Linked DNA regions of Homo sapiens: all the other regions are linked to region 2. Evidence: promoter capture Hi-C in 16 types of primary human blood cells and fetal thymus (Javierre and others, 2016). All regions are on one chromosome and are shown on one strand. The core of a region is centred on a gene start or on the middle of the fragment in contact, and the rest is flanking DNA. Distances in the headings are between cores, read along the strand shown. Region 1 overlaps LOC105378258 (a long non-coding RNA gene). Region 2 holds the start of COX6A1 (cytochrome c oxidase subunit 6A1). Region 3 overlaps RNF34 (ring finger protein 34).

Region 1 (3,741 bases), core at 219-2,718, 620 kb before region 2:
CAGGCTCAGTGATGCATACTTGTAGTCTCAGCTACTCAGGAGGCTGAGGTGGGAGAATCACTTGAGCCTGGGAGGTGAGGTTGCAGTGAGCCCAGATCATGCCACGCACTCCAGCCTGGGTGACAGAGCCAGATCCCATCTCAAAAAAAATAAAGAATAAAATAAACTGTGTAGAGAGCCTGGTATACACGAAGTGCTTGATAAGTATAGCTATTGGAGTTAATATCAATACCATAATGTCAAAGAGCCCTGGTAAACACTCTGGGCTCCTGTCTGCCTTCTGAAAAACAAGGATTAAGCAGATCCCCTCTGTCTCTTCTGTACTAGGATCCTAGGAACTACAAATGGTGATTGTTTTAGGTGGGTGTGGAGCATCATCTTGTGGAAGAGAGGAAAATTGACAAAAATGTCGCAGTTTCCTATTAAGAATATATATTGGAATTCACAGTTTTTAAAATATGAGTACATATACCAAAAATGCCCTAATGCAAGGTGATCCCCAAATCCAATCAATTTTTCCAATGGACTAATAACAAATATTTGCCAGGGAGAAAATAAAAATGTGTTTGAGAATCACATGGATCAATGGGGAAAAACATAAAAATAAATGAAAAATAAAAATATGTTGGCATAGCCCTAATTACATAAGCTTAAGGGAAATCAAATATGCACTTCCAATATTTCGTTAATTTATTTAGATACAGCTATACATTTGTATATGTTATGGGGTAATATACAAATATTACTCTTTTCCACTTTCAGTTTTCAAAAAGATTTTGTAACTCAAGCTCTTCACAGGCATCTCCCACTTAGTGGTTTTCCCTCTCCAAGGCAATTTTTGAATCTTCTAAGCCTGTGTTTCAGGGCTCAGTATTTTTTACTCTGTTAAGCAGAGTGAGAGACAGGCTGTCATGAATCTGGACATTTTTATTTTTAATTTTTTTTAGACAGGGTCTCATTCTGTTGCCCAGGCTGGAGTGCAGTGGTTTGATCACAGCTCACTGCAGCCTCGACTTCCCAGGCTCAGGTGATCCTCCCACTTCAGCCTCCCTAGTAGCTACGGGCACATGCCACATGCCCGGCTAATTTTTTTGTATATTTTGTAGAGATGGAGTTTTACTATGCTGCCCAGGCTGGAAATCTGGACATTCTTAACAAACCTCAGTGACATATTTATGCGTTGTTAGGGCATTTTTAAAATGCATCCTATAGGTGCATACTTATGGCCTCCACAGTATCAATGTGGGATTTACTTTCTTTCCTTTTTTTTTTTTTTTTTTTTTTTTTTTTTTTTTTTTGAGACAGTCTGGCTGGAGTGCAGTGATGCCATCTCGGCTCACTGCAACCTCCGCCTCTGGGGTCAAGTGATTTTCCTGCCTCAGCCTCCCAAGTAGCTGGGATTACAGGCGCCTGCCACCACGCCTGGCTAATTTTTTTGTATTTTTAGTAGAGACGAGGTTTCATCATGTTAGCCAGGCTGGTCTCAAACTCCTGGCCTCAAGCGATCCTCCCGCCTCGGCCTCCCAAAGTGCTGGATTACAGGCGAGAGCCACCGCGCCTGGTCGCTAGTTGAGATCTTTAAAAGCCAATGTGTCTACCACAAACTGTCAGTTTGCTCTTCAAAATGAAGTTCTTGAGAGAACAGCGCCCCCTAAAGACAATTTTTTAAAAGATTACCTCCTTCCTGTGGATTATTGGTGAGGGGATAGGGGAGACCTAAATATACGCAACAAAACAAGTAGTAAAGGGGTGAGTATGTCTTTGCTTTTAGAAAATAAAGAGTCAATCCCAGGCCCCAGGACTCCCGGGGCTCAGCCCAAGCCCCCATCCCCTCACCCCAAGGAGCCAGCACCTTCTGATTCCGGGGCAGACACTACTGAGTTCCCGTAGGGAGACAAGGTCTGCTCCTGCAGCAGGAAATAGGGGATGGAGAGGTGGGGGCAGCCCAGCTCCAGGACACCCTGGGAAACTCCCAGCCTGAGAACCTTCCTCTCAAGGAAGCCCAAGGGGCACTTGGCTCCATCTCCAGCCTTTTTTCCTGGCAACCTCAAATGGAAAGAGAAAATTCCTCTTTCAAAGCTCAGCAAATTTTCTGTTTCCAATTAAAACAAAACAAAACAAAACAAAAAAACCCAAACAAACAAAACAAAGTTCAGTTTCAGTTTCCATTCTCAGCCGGCAGGAGAGATGGCTGCTGAACTAAGGCAGCCCAGCAGAGGGAGGCTCAGCTGATGCCTGGAGGGCCCCCTAGCCCTCTCTGCACCCTAAAAAGAGGAAAGTAAGCTTAGTGATTCTTCCGTCGGTGGCTCACGCCTGTAATCCCAGCACTTTGGGAGCCCAAGGCGGGCAGATCACCTGAGGTCAGGAGTTTGAGACCAGCCTGGCCAACATGGTGAAACCCCGTTTCTACTAAAAATACCAAAAATACCAAAAATTAGCCGGGCGTGGTGTCAGGTGCCTGTAATCCCAGCTACACAGGAGGCTGAGGTGGGAGAATCCCTTGAACCCGGGAGGCAGAGGTTGCGGTGAGCTGAGATCACGCCATGGGTGACAGAGCAAGACTCTGTATCAAAAAAAAAAAAAAAAAGAAAGAAAAAGGGCAGCTAACTCTCTCTCTAACCCACACCATCTCCCTGCCCTTCTGCAGTTCTGTGGCCTACTGGACAAAGGCTGGGAGTTGCCCCTTACAGGGCTGGGCAGAAGCAGAGACGATTCATTCCTGGTCCCACAGAGATGGCAGGCTTCCAGGACCTGTATGACACCCCTGGGGACAGGCTGGATGTCTTCATAAAACATCCTTCCAGTCTGCCTTCGTAAAACAGCCTCCAGCCCCAGGGAGACTGGAAGGATGAAGTGAAGGATGCCGGGCATTGAACTGAGCAGTTCTTGAGGGATCAGTTCTTCTATAATGAGCTGATTCTGGACCAGGAAGTCAGGGTGCTGAAGATGGCAAAGGTGAGCACTCAGGAACCCCCGGGGTTCAAATCCCAGCTCTGCCCTGTGGGACTGTGGGGCTGTGGGATAGGTAAGGGATGAGTTATTTTGTCTCTCTGAGCATCGGTCTCTTCCTCTCTAAAACCGGTTTCTAATGAACAATAAATGGGATAAAGCATAGAAAAGTGCTCTTAAGCAGTAAACTATTCTACAAATCTGGATGATGATGATGATGATGATGATGATGATGATGATGATTTGGGATCCAGCTCTCTAAGTGCCAGGGAATCAAGTGGACTATGGGTAGCAGGTTTGTATAAAATTTATGCCTTTTGGCCAGGCACAGTGGCTCACACCTGTAATCCCAGCACTTTGGGACGCTGAGTGGGGAGGATCACTTGAACCCAGGAGTTCAAGGCCAGCCTGGGCAACATTGCAAGACCTCATCTCAATTATTTAAAATTTTAAACTTTTTTATATATTATTTAAAAAAAATTTTTAAAGAAATTAAAATAAAATTTATGCCTTTTGTTTCCTCTTTAACCAGCCCCACTTAACCCCTAAAGTCATCAAGATCATCTATATTTTCCTTCTAAAATGGCACTGACTGGCCGGGCGCGGTGGCTCACGCCTGTAATCTCGGTACTTTGGGAGGCCAAGGCAGGCGGAACACGAGGTCAGGAGATCGAGACCATCCTGGCTAACATGGTGAAACCCCGTCTCTACTATAAAAATACAAAAAAAAACTTAGTCAGGTGTGGTGGCAGGCGCCTGTAATCCCAGCTACTCGGGAGGCTGAGGCAGGAG
Region 2 (4,113 bases), core at 1,614-4,113:
TAGCACCACTCCACTTGGTCCCTTTATCCACATCAGGCACAATAAACCAAGAGGGGCTGTTATAAACACTTATTCAATGGGCTGAATTGGACCTGTAACACTAAACAGCAGCCTAGACCTTCACTGTGGAAACAGAAATAACTAATGCCAATTTCTTTTCAACTTGGACACTGACTTGAAGCTCAAATGCTAATTTCTGCGAAAAAACACAACCAAAGAAAGTAACTCTCAGCTCATGACCAATCTAAATTTAAGTTATTTATTTAAGCCATCTCCTGCCACAAGCAAAGGGATGGGAGACCAGTATACCAGTCATCATTTGATACAAGTAAAGAAGGTGAGCTTAAGGTCCCATATACTTTTTCTGGTCCATGTGCAGAGTAACGGTCCAAACCAGTGCTGTGGTCCCTGGTGCCCGGGTAGTGGTCCAGATTCTCTTTATTCATCTTCGTAGCCAGTTGGAAGTGGATTCACATGAGGGTTATGGAATAGAGTATGGTTACCATCTCCCCAGGGAAACGGCTGTGGAGTGAAGATGTCAGTTAGATAATTCCAGAAAATAATTTAGAAAGAACACCGTCATGAACTGCTTATAACGGGGTGACAGATCATATATAAAAACAAAATGGAAATTAGTCCTTTATCTACTGGTGTAGTTCAACCTTCCCATTATTTAAGGAGCTCTTATAACTACCAGGGGAGCCCTTAAAGTTATCCTGGCTACAGGACAGTTTTAATTCCAGAAACAAATATGGATGGCAGAAAATGCAAGCTCAAGTTAGTTACTCATCATCCTCTCCCTAGTAACTAGTATATCCAGTGCTGTGTTTATGAAAGTGTAATCCTCAAATCACCTATATCAAAATGGTGGCAGTATTAGGGGAGGGAGATGCTTAATTAAATGCAGATTTCTGGCACCATCCCAGACTTCAAACAATATCTGGGCTGGGAAACTGCAGCCCACCCTGAATTATCTTGCCTATTACCTTTGAAAAGCATTACTTTAGGGCAACGGTCTCCAACCCAGGGTGATTTTGCCCCTTCAGGGCACACTGGGTAGTATCGGGAGACACTGTGATGGGGGCGGGGGAGGGGGAAGCGGGAGTGGGGTTGCGCAGGTACTACTGCCACCTAGTGGGTACAGGCCAAGGATATGGCTAAACATTTCACAATGCACAAGATAGCCCCCCAACAAGAATTACCCAGCCCCAAATGTCAACAGTGCTGAGGCTGAGAAACCTTTACTGTTTGGCTTCTAATTGCATTGTACAAGGATGGGAGTGCCGCTCAAAGACTCAACAAATTCAAGAGTCTAGGTTAAGTTTCTACAAGGCCAGTCCTATATGGGCTAGGTGATGTAATAATAATAATAATAATAATAACTTTTTTCATCACTTCTCGGCCTTTTGGCTAAGATCAAGTATATTATTACTATTTTTTTTTGAGACGGAGTTTCACTCCTGTTGCCCAGGCTGCAGTGCAATGGCTGGATCTTGGCTCACTGCAACCTCCTCCTCCTGGGTTCAACCTCCTAGATTCTCCCACCGCAGCCTCCCGAGTAGCTGGGATTACAGGCGCCCGCCACCACGCCCGGCTACTTTTTGTACTTTTAGTAGAGATAGTGTTTCGCCATGTTGACGAGGCTGGTCTTGAACTCCTGACCTCCGGCGATCCACCCACCTTGGCCTCCCAAAGTGCTGGGATTACAGGCGTGAGCCACCGCGCATGGCCAGTATTGAAGAATCAGAATAAGCCCTTGTTAAAGATACAGCAAACAACAGAGGACACAACATTGTAATATATCTACATCAACAACCAATGATAAAACAGTCGAGAAAAGGTATTGGTGGGGAATAGAGAAAGCTGTCAGTCTCTTCATTATGCAACTAGTAGCTGCCAGATGCCCATGTTTTGTTGTTGCTGTTTTGTTTTGTTTTGAGACCAGAGTCTCGCTCTGTTGCCCAGGCCGGAGTGCAGTGGCACGATCTCAGCTCCCTGCAAACTCCGCCTCCTAGGTTCAAGGGATTCTCCTGCTTCAGCCTCCCATGTAGCTGCTGGGTTCGCTTACGCGAACCACCTTCAGACTTTGCCACTCTAATTGGATTTCCCAAACCTCCAGGCTTTACACAACGGACACCTGTTTCAGAACTGTCTCAGAAGTAAAAAAAAAAAAAAAAAAAAAAAAAAGAACTGTCTCAGAAGGCAGGAGGTAGGATGAATCGGAGAAAAGGGAAACTGAAGAGCACTTATTGTATGACCTTGAAGAAGAGAATTGAGACGTAATCCCAAGTGTCAGCTGTCCATCCACAAAATGGAAGAAAATACATTTTCTGTTTGTGAGGATAAACAAGCTGTACACGCCTGGCACCCATGCCTTCAGAGAATGAAGAACTTGCACTAAGGCACACATAACGAAAAGAGAACGGACGCTTGAAGAGATGTACAAGGGCGTACCTTGGTCCTGATGCGGAGATGGGGGTAGGCGATGAACTCGGGTCTCTCGTGCTCTCCGTGGTGCGACTTCAGGTACACATTCAGCATGCTGACTGCCACCCCGGGGAGCGCGACGAAGAAGGTGAGAGTCTTCCACATGCGAGCTGCGGAGAAGCCACAAACGTTCAGCGCCGGTATGGGGCGGGCCCGGGTCTCACTTTCCCTCCCGCAAGGCCTCGGGCCAAGGTCACAGTCCCTCCCTGTCTCGCCCGAGTGGGGCTGAGGCTCGACCCGTCGACCCCGGCCCCAGTACCTGAGCCCTCTTCGCCATGGGCGCCACTCGACATAGGCCGCCCCAGCTGTGGGCGGGACCGACCCAGCAGCCGAGAAACCGAGGACACACCAACTACCGCCATTTTTGATCTGGACTGCCGCAGCGCCGGAAGCGGAAGTGGAAAATTGGCTCTGGGGGCGGTACTACAACCTCCAAAGGAAGTTACTATTGGGCGCCGCCCTCCCACTGGCATTAACCTGAGCACTATCATCCGGGACGACGGAGTCCTTGTCAAAATCCTCGGCATCTCGGGCAAGAGAGAGCATGCGCTCTGCACCTCCCTTCAGGCTTTACCGTTTCCTTCGTGCGCATGCGTGTGCCCTCCGGTCTCCCTACCGTCCCCACCTGGGCGAGGCGGAAGCTCAAGAGAGGTTTGTGCAGGGTGCCCTGGTACCTGGAATCGCTCCCTTCGTTGGAGTCCATGGACGGGCATCTGGAGGTTCTGATCCCAGACCGCCCTATCTAAAATTCCGTTCCCCTTCCTCGCCATCCTCCGACTGCGTTTTCTCATAGCACATAACATTGCACCTTCGTCGTTATATTATTATTTTGTCTGTCTCCCCCACTAGAATATAAAGTCTGTGATACCAAGAGTTTGGCACTGCAGCATTCTCAGAATAATCTGGGAATGGTGTAATTTGGAATCATACCTGGCACATACCAGATACTTGATATAAATTTGCTGAATGAATGGATGAATGAATGAATAGCAACAGAAAGTATAAAGAGCACTGAAATTGGTGCCAGCAGACCTGGATCCTAATCCTGACTCAACAGTCTCATCTTTTTTTTTTTTTTTTTTTTTTTTTTTTTTGAGACGGAGTTTGACTCTTGTTGCTTAGGCTGGAGTGCAGCGGTGCAATCTTGGCTCACTGCAACCTCTGCATCCCAGGTTCAAGCAGTTCTACTGCCTCAGCCTCCTGAATAGCTGGGATTACAGGCACGCACCACCATGCCTGGCTAATTTTTTTTTTTGTACTTTGGTAGAGACAGGGTTTCACCATATTGGCCAGGATGGTCTCCATCTCCTGACCTTGTGATCCGCCTTCCTCGGCCTCCCAAAGTGCTGGGATTACAGGCGTGAGCCACTGTGCCCGGCCTTTTTTTTTTTTTTTTTTTTTTTTTTCAATAGGCCCCTTTGAGAATGTAATGAGGACCAGCGTGGTGGCTCATGGCTGTAATCCCAACACTTTGAGAGGCCGAGGCGGACAGATTGCTTGAGCTTGAGAGTTTGAGACCAGCCTGGGCAACAAAGCTTTTTTCTTTATTAGAAAAAAAAAGAATCTAATGAAAGCTTTGAACCCTTTCCTCTAAAGACACACCTATGTGTAAACACACAGTATAGC
Region 3 (4,211 bases), core at 572-3,071, 960 kb before region 2:
AAAAAAAGATTAAATGACAGCCAGACACAAGAGAAGTATAGGGGGAGAGTGGGAAAAGAAAGTTTATGAGTATGAAAACAGACAACTAGGCCAGGTGCCATGGCTCAAGCCTGTAATCCTAGCAGTTTGGGAGGCCAAGGCAAGTGGACTGCCTGAGCTCAGGAGTTTGGGACCAGCCTGGGCAACATTGTGAAACTCCGTCTCTACTAAATACGAAGAAAAAAAAAAAAAATTAGCCGGGCATGGCAGCTACTTGGGAAGCTGAGGCAGGAGAACTGTTTGAACCCGAGAGGCAGAGGTTGCAGTGAGCTGAGATCGTGCCACTGCACTCCAGCCTGGCGACAGAGTGAGATTCCATCTCAAAAAAAAAAAAAAGAAACAGAAAACTAAATGATCTAAGTCATTCACTTTTTATTAAACTAGGTAAATAGCAAGGTAATAATAATGCCATAGACTCTTCTCGTAAGAGTCTATCTTGCTTGCCAAAACTCTAATATGTTACTACACAGTCATTCACTTTTTATTAAACTAGGTAAATAGCAATGTAATAATAAACCCATAGACTCTTCTCATAAGCGTCTACCTTGCTTGCCATAACTCTAAGTTAAATATATTATTTACACAGTTATTTTAAGGATGAACCTAGAAGTTTTAAATTCAAAAATAATTGTCTCAGATGCTACATGAATCTACAAGGACCAAGGAGCGATACTGTTCTTCCATCAATGAAAGCTTCCTCAGAGAACTCACCCACTATATGTCCAGGGTTTGTTTCAAACTCTGGACAACCTTCAGTTTGCTAAAACTCAATGTCCTGTGTTAAACGACAGGAAAAAGATGTATTAAATCTTAGCAACGGTGATATAAAATAATCGGTTTTACAGTTTAATCTTGGTTAGGTTAAACTTTCCTACATAACTAAAAGCAAAGCAGAAAAAACAGTTGATAAAAAAGCAAAATCTTTATCCTTTTTTTTTTTTGTTTTGGTTTTTTTTTTTGGAGACAGAGTCTTGCTCTGTTGCCCAGGCTGGAGTGCAGTGGCGCAATCTTGGCTCACTGCAAACTCTGCCTCCCGGGTTCACGCCATTCTCCTGCCTCAGCCTCCAGAGTAGCTGGGACTACAGGCGCCCGCCACCACATCCAGCTAATTTTTTGTATTTTTAGTAGAGACAGGGTTTCACTGTGTTAGCCAGGATGGTCTCAACCTCCTGACCTTGTGATCTGCCTGCCTCGGCCTCCCAAAGTGCTGGGACTACAGGCGTGAGCCACCGCGCCCGGCCTCTTTATCCTATTTAGAGCCATTTGAGAAACATATGCTCCTTAGAATGTGAAAGGATTTCTTATCAAAACTGCTGCTTCAACTGAAATACAATATGCAGGGACCTAACTCTTTCTTAGTGACCAAATATCCGACCATATACCACAAAGGAAGGAATTCTACATCCTAAATTATTTCTCTCATACCATTTGGACATTAAGCAGGTTGCAAAAACAGATGATGAACTCTAAAATGTAATACTTTTAGACAAGACATTGGCCAAACTGATCGATTATTACAATAACATGTGCTATAGATACAAATGTTACCTTCCTCATGCTTGGGTTTTTGTTTTCTTTTAACAGTATACTTGATCCTTAGTACCACTCCCCCACCTTTCAGAGAAAAAAAAAGGAAAAGGAATTACATTCAGTAGATTACTTTCTCCTTGATATCTCATTTTGAGCTTGGAAGAACCCAGATTAGCACAATTAATGGTGAGATCAATATAAATAAGGAAAAATGGGAAAGAGGATTAAATCAAATTAACACAGGGCACCAATTTGGATTTTTTTTTTTAATCCCTTATAGGAAGTTGATTGGATGTTACTGCAAGGTTAAAAAGTTACTTGAGTCTGAGAGGTAAGACCTATTTCAAAACATCAGTTTCTAAACCAAACCAAACCAAACCAAACCAAAACGCCAAAGGGAGAAAGTAAATACCCATTCCGTACATATACTAAAACCAGCTGCTCCAGGTTTGAGTGAACATGTACTTATCCATATAATTGCTTAGCTTTTCTTGTTTATTTTTAACTGCTTAACTTTTTTTTTCCTTTTTTTCTTTTTAAAATAATTTTTAATCGAGACAGGGTTTTGCTATGTTGGCCAAGCTGTTCTCGAACTCCTGACCTCAAGTGATCCATCTGCCTTGGCCTCCCAAAGTGCTGGGATTATAGGCGTGAGCTATTGCACCCGGCCAGGTATACTTGCTTAGCTTTTAATGTAATTTTAATTCCACAGAAAGAAGTATTTCCTTACATGAACATTCACATGTTAGCATTCCATGACATCAGGAATCAGTCTCTGCCCAGAAATCTACAGATGAGCATACCCACAATTAAACAATTTCAATATAAATCAACATTAAGTTAAATAATAAACATTTAACAGCCCAAATCCTCAATGGTGTAAATCCAGTTTCACAAAAACAAAAGCATCATTTATAACTGTCATCTGGCACAGGCTGATGTCTATTCAGGTCCATATTTTGCTTCTGAAAATACGTATCTTTTCTATAATTTCAATTGCCACCAAACTTTGTTTCTAAAATTTCATCTTAGAAAGTAGTACCTTCCACTTCAATTCAAAACACACGTCTGTTTTCAAAGAACTTGTTTAAAAATTTCAACACTGGACCTGTCTCTAATTCTTTCCTTCGATAGCTAGTTCCTTAATGGGCCACAAATTTAATATTAATAAAGATACTGATTCTTCGAGGCATTATATATAAAGATCCCTGCTTTGTTTTTGGATCTTAACACAGCAGAGGGTGGTTTTCAGGAAATAAAGCTACTTCTAGATACTTTAATAGATATTTCAAGCTGTAATAATATTTTATAACTAAACTGGAAAGTTAAAAATAAGCTTTTACAATATCCTCATACTTCAAGGCACAGTTCCAAAGTTACCTATTCCAAAAATATTCCTTGCTTTCTGTAGCCAGAAGTATCCTTTCTGGCTCCTGTGTTTTGTCCCTGCCTTTTTTTTTTTTTTTTTTTTGATACCTATAGCCTTCTGCCTTGTAATATGGTTACTTACAAATAACTCTTCTTTTGAATGGTAAACTGCCTTCCTAAGGGATGAGACTGTATTTTGAATTACTTCTCTTCACCATGTCTCCCTCTTGGCTAACGCACAGAAAACGTTCAACAAAACATGTGCTGAATTTCTGTGACCAGCTGACACTCTTTTTCAATCTTCTATAGTAAATCTTTGACGCTTTATGGAGACAGCGTTAATCTAGCAGCTCACCTGCTAGATTACCCACCCCCAGCACACCTCTGCACTGAGATTAACGAAACCATCTAGGTCTGAAAGTTATCATCACCTTATGACTCATCCCACTTGGTTTGAGTTCGGCAAATGAATCAATACCCTGAACTGACTGCTGTTCACAAAGCTCTTCAGAACTCTCAGTGATCGGGTTGAGAATCATCTCTCAGAAGTAGGCCGGAAACCCCGCTCCCCTTTCCCCTTTTCTTCAACTTCTCATCAGTAATGCTCCCACGCTCTCACTCCCACCTTGGAGAACTCAAGCTGCCAAATTCCTTGCTGCGTTTACCTAGTGGCGATGGAGGCACATCCAGCCTTCTCTAGTTCGCGGCCCCGACGTGCAGCCTACGAAGCACCCCTTCCGGGTGGCATCCCCACCCTGAGAGTTCTTTAACCCGTTAGCCTGGCCCTAGCCTCACCACCCCCTGCACCCCTCCTGTTCTCCTCGGTCCCACGATGTCCCCAACACTTGGGTTAGTTCAAGGACTCGGGGCGGGAAAGGGCACGCCGCGCGCCAAGGGACCGAGGCTCAGGCGAGCCCTGGCGGCTCTGCCTCAGGCCCCCGAGGAGGCGCACAGGGCCCGGCGCAGAGAGGGGCCCACCCGGCGCGAACGCTAGGGACGCCCGGCTTCTCCCCACCGCTCGGGTCGCTGACGGGGGTGGCACTGGAGGAGCTCGAGAGGGTCCGGCAGCCTGCCCTGGCTCGGTTGGGGCACCTGAAGCCGGGCAAGCGACCCCCCTCAGCGCAGCTCTCCGAGATGACGACTAGGTAACCGCTAAGGCGGAAAGAAAGGAGGCGCTTCAGGTGCCCTGGCAGGATAGGATTGGCGAGGAGGGTCTGTCCGGCTCCACCGGCCCCTCACCTTCATGGCCGCGACCGCCTCAGCTCGGCCGGCTC

Evidence for each region. The method cuts DNA at HindIII sites, captures the fragments that hold promoters and counts their contacts. A CHiCAGO score of 5 or more calls a contact.
Region 1: a fragment that was not itself captured here is called in contact with the fragment with the promoter of COX6A1 in region 2 in 3 of 17 cell types (total B cells, naive B cells and total CD8 T cells); the score reaches 7.8 in total B cells.
Region 3: a fragment that was not itself captured here is called in contact with the fragment with the promoter of COX6A1 in region 2 in 1 of 17 cell types (fetal thymus); the score reaches 5.7 in fetal thymus.

Annotation. Positions count from the first base shown.
Region 1 is chr12:121,058,663-121,062,403 of GRCh38, reverse strand. LOC105378258 (a long non-coding RNA gene) reads left to right here. Exons shown (of 4, transcript XR_007063492.1): 4 at 2,648-3,114. It also overlaps the pseudogene OASL2P. Among named protein-coding and RNA genes, the nearest start is that of OASL, 21 kb to the right of the region's middle. RefSeq lists enhancers at 1,823-2,002, 2,023-2,192, 2,313-2,402. The HindIII fragment of the contact is 1,634 bases long and covers 652-2,285 here.
Region 2 is chr12:120,436,863-120,440,975 of GRCh38, reverse strand. COX6A1 (cytochrome c oxidase subunit 6A1) reads right to left here and starts at 2,863. Exons shown (of 3, transcript NM_004373.4): 1 at 2,747-2,863; 2 at 2,455-2,597; 3 at 246-522. The coding sequence starts at 2,849. The coding sequence ends at 439. It also overlaps the pseudogene LOC124903126. RefSeq lists enhancers at 2,169-2,690, 2,617-2,826. The HindIII fragment of the contact is 8,043 bases long and covers 1-4,024 here.
Region 3 is chr12:121,400,184-121,404,394 of GRCh38, reverse strand. It overlaps RNF34 (ring finger protein 34), which reads right to left. Exons shown (of 6, transcript NM_025126.4): 1 at 4,177-4,211. The coding sequence starts at 4,182. Among named protein-coding and RNA genes, the nearest start is that of RNF34, 2.2 kb to the right of the region's middle. RefSeq lists enhancers at 3,106-3,637, 3,638-4,169. The HindIII fragment of the contact is 2,173 bases long and covers 735-2,907 here.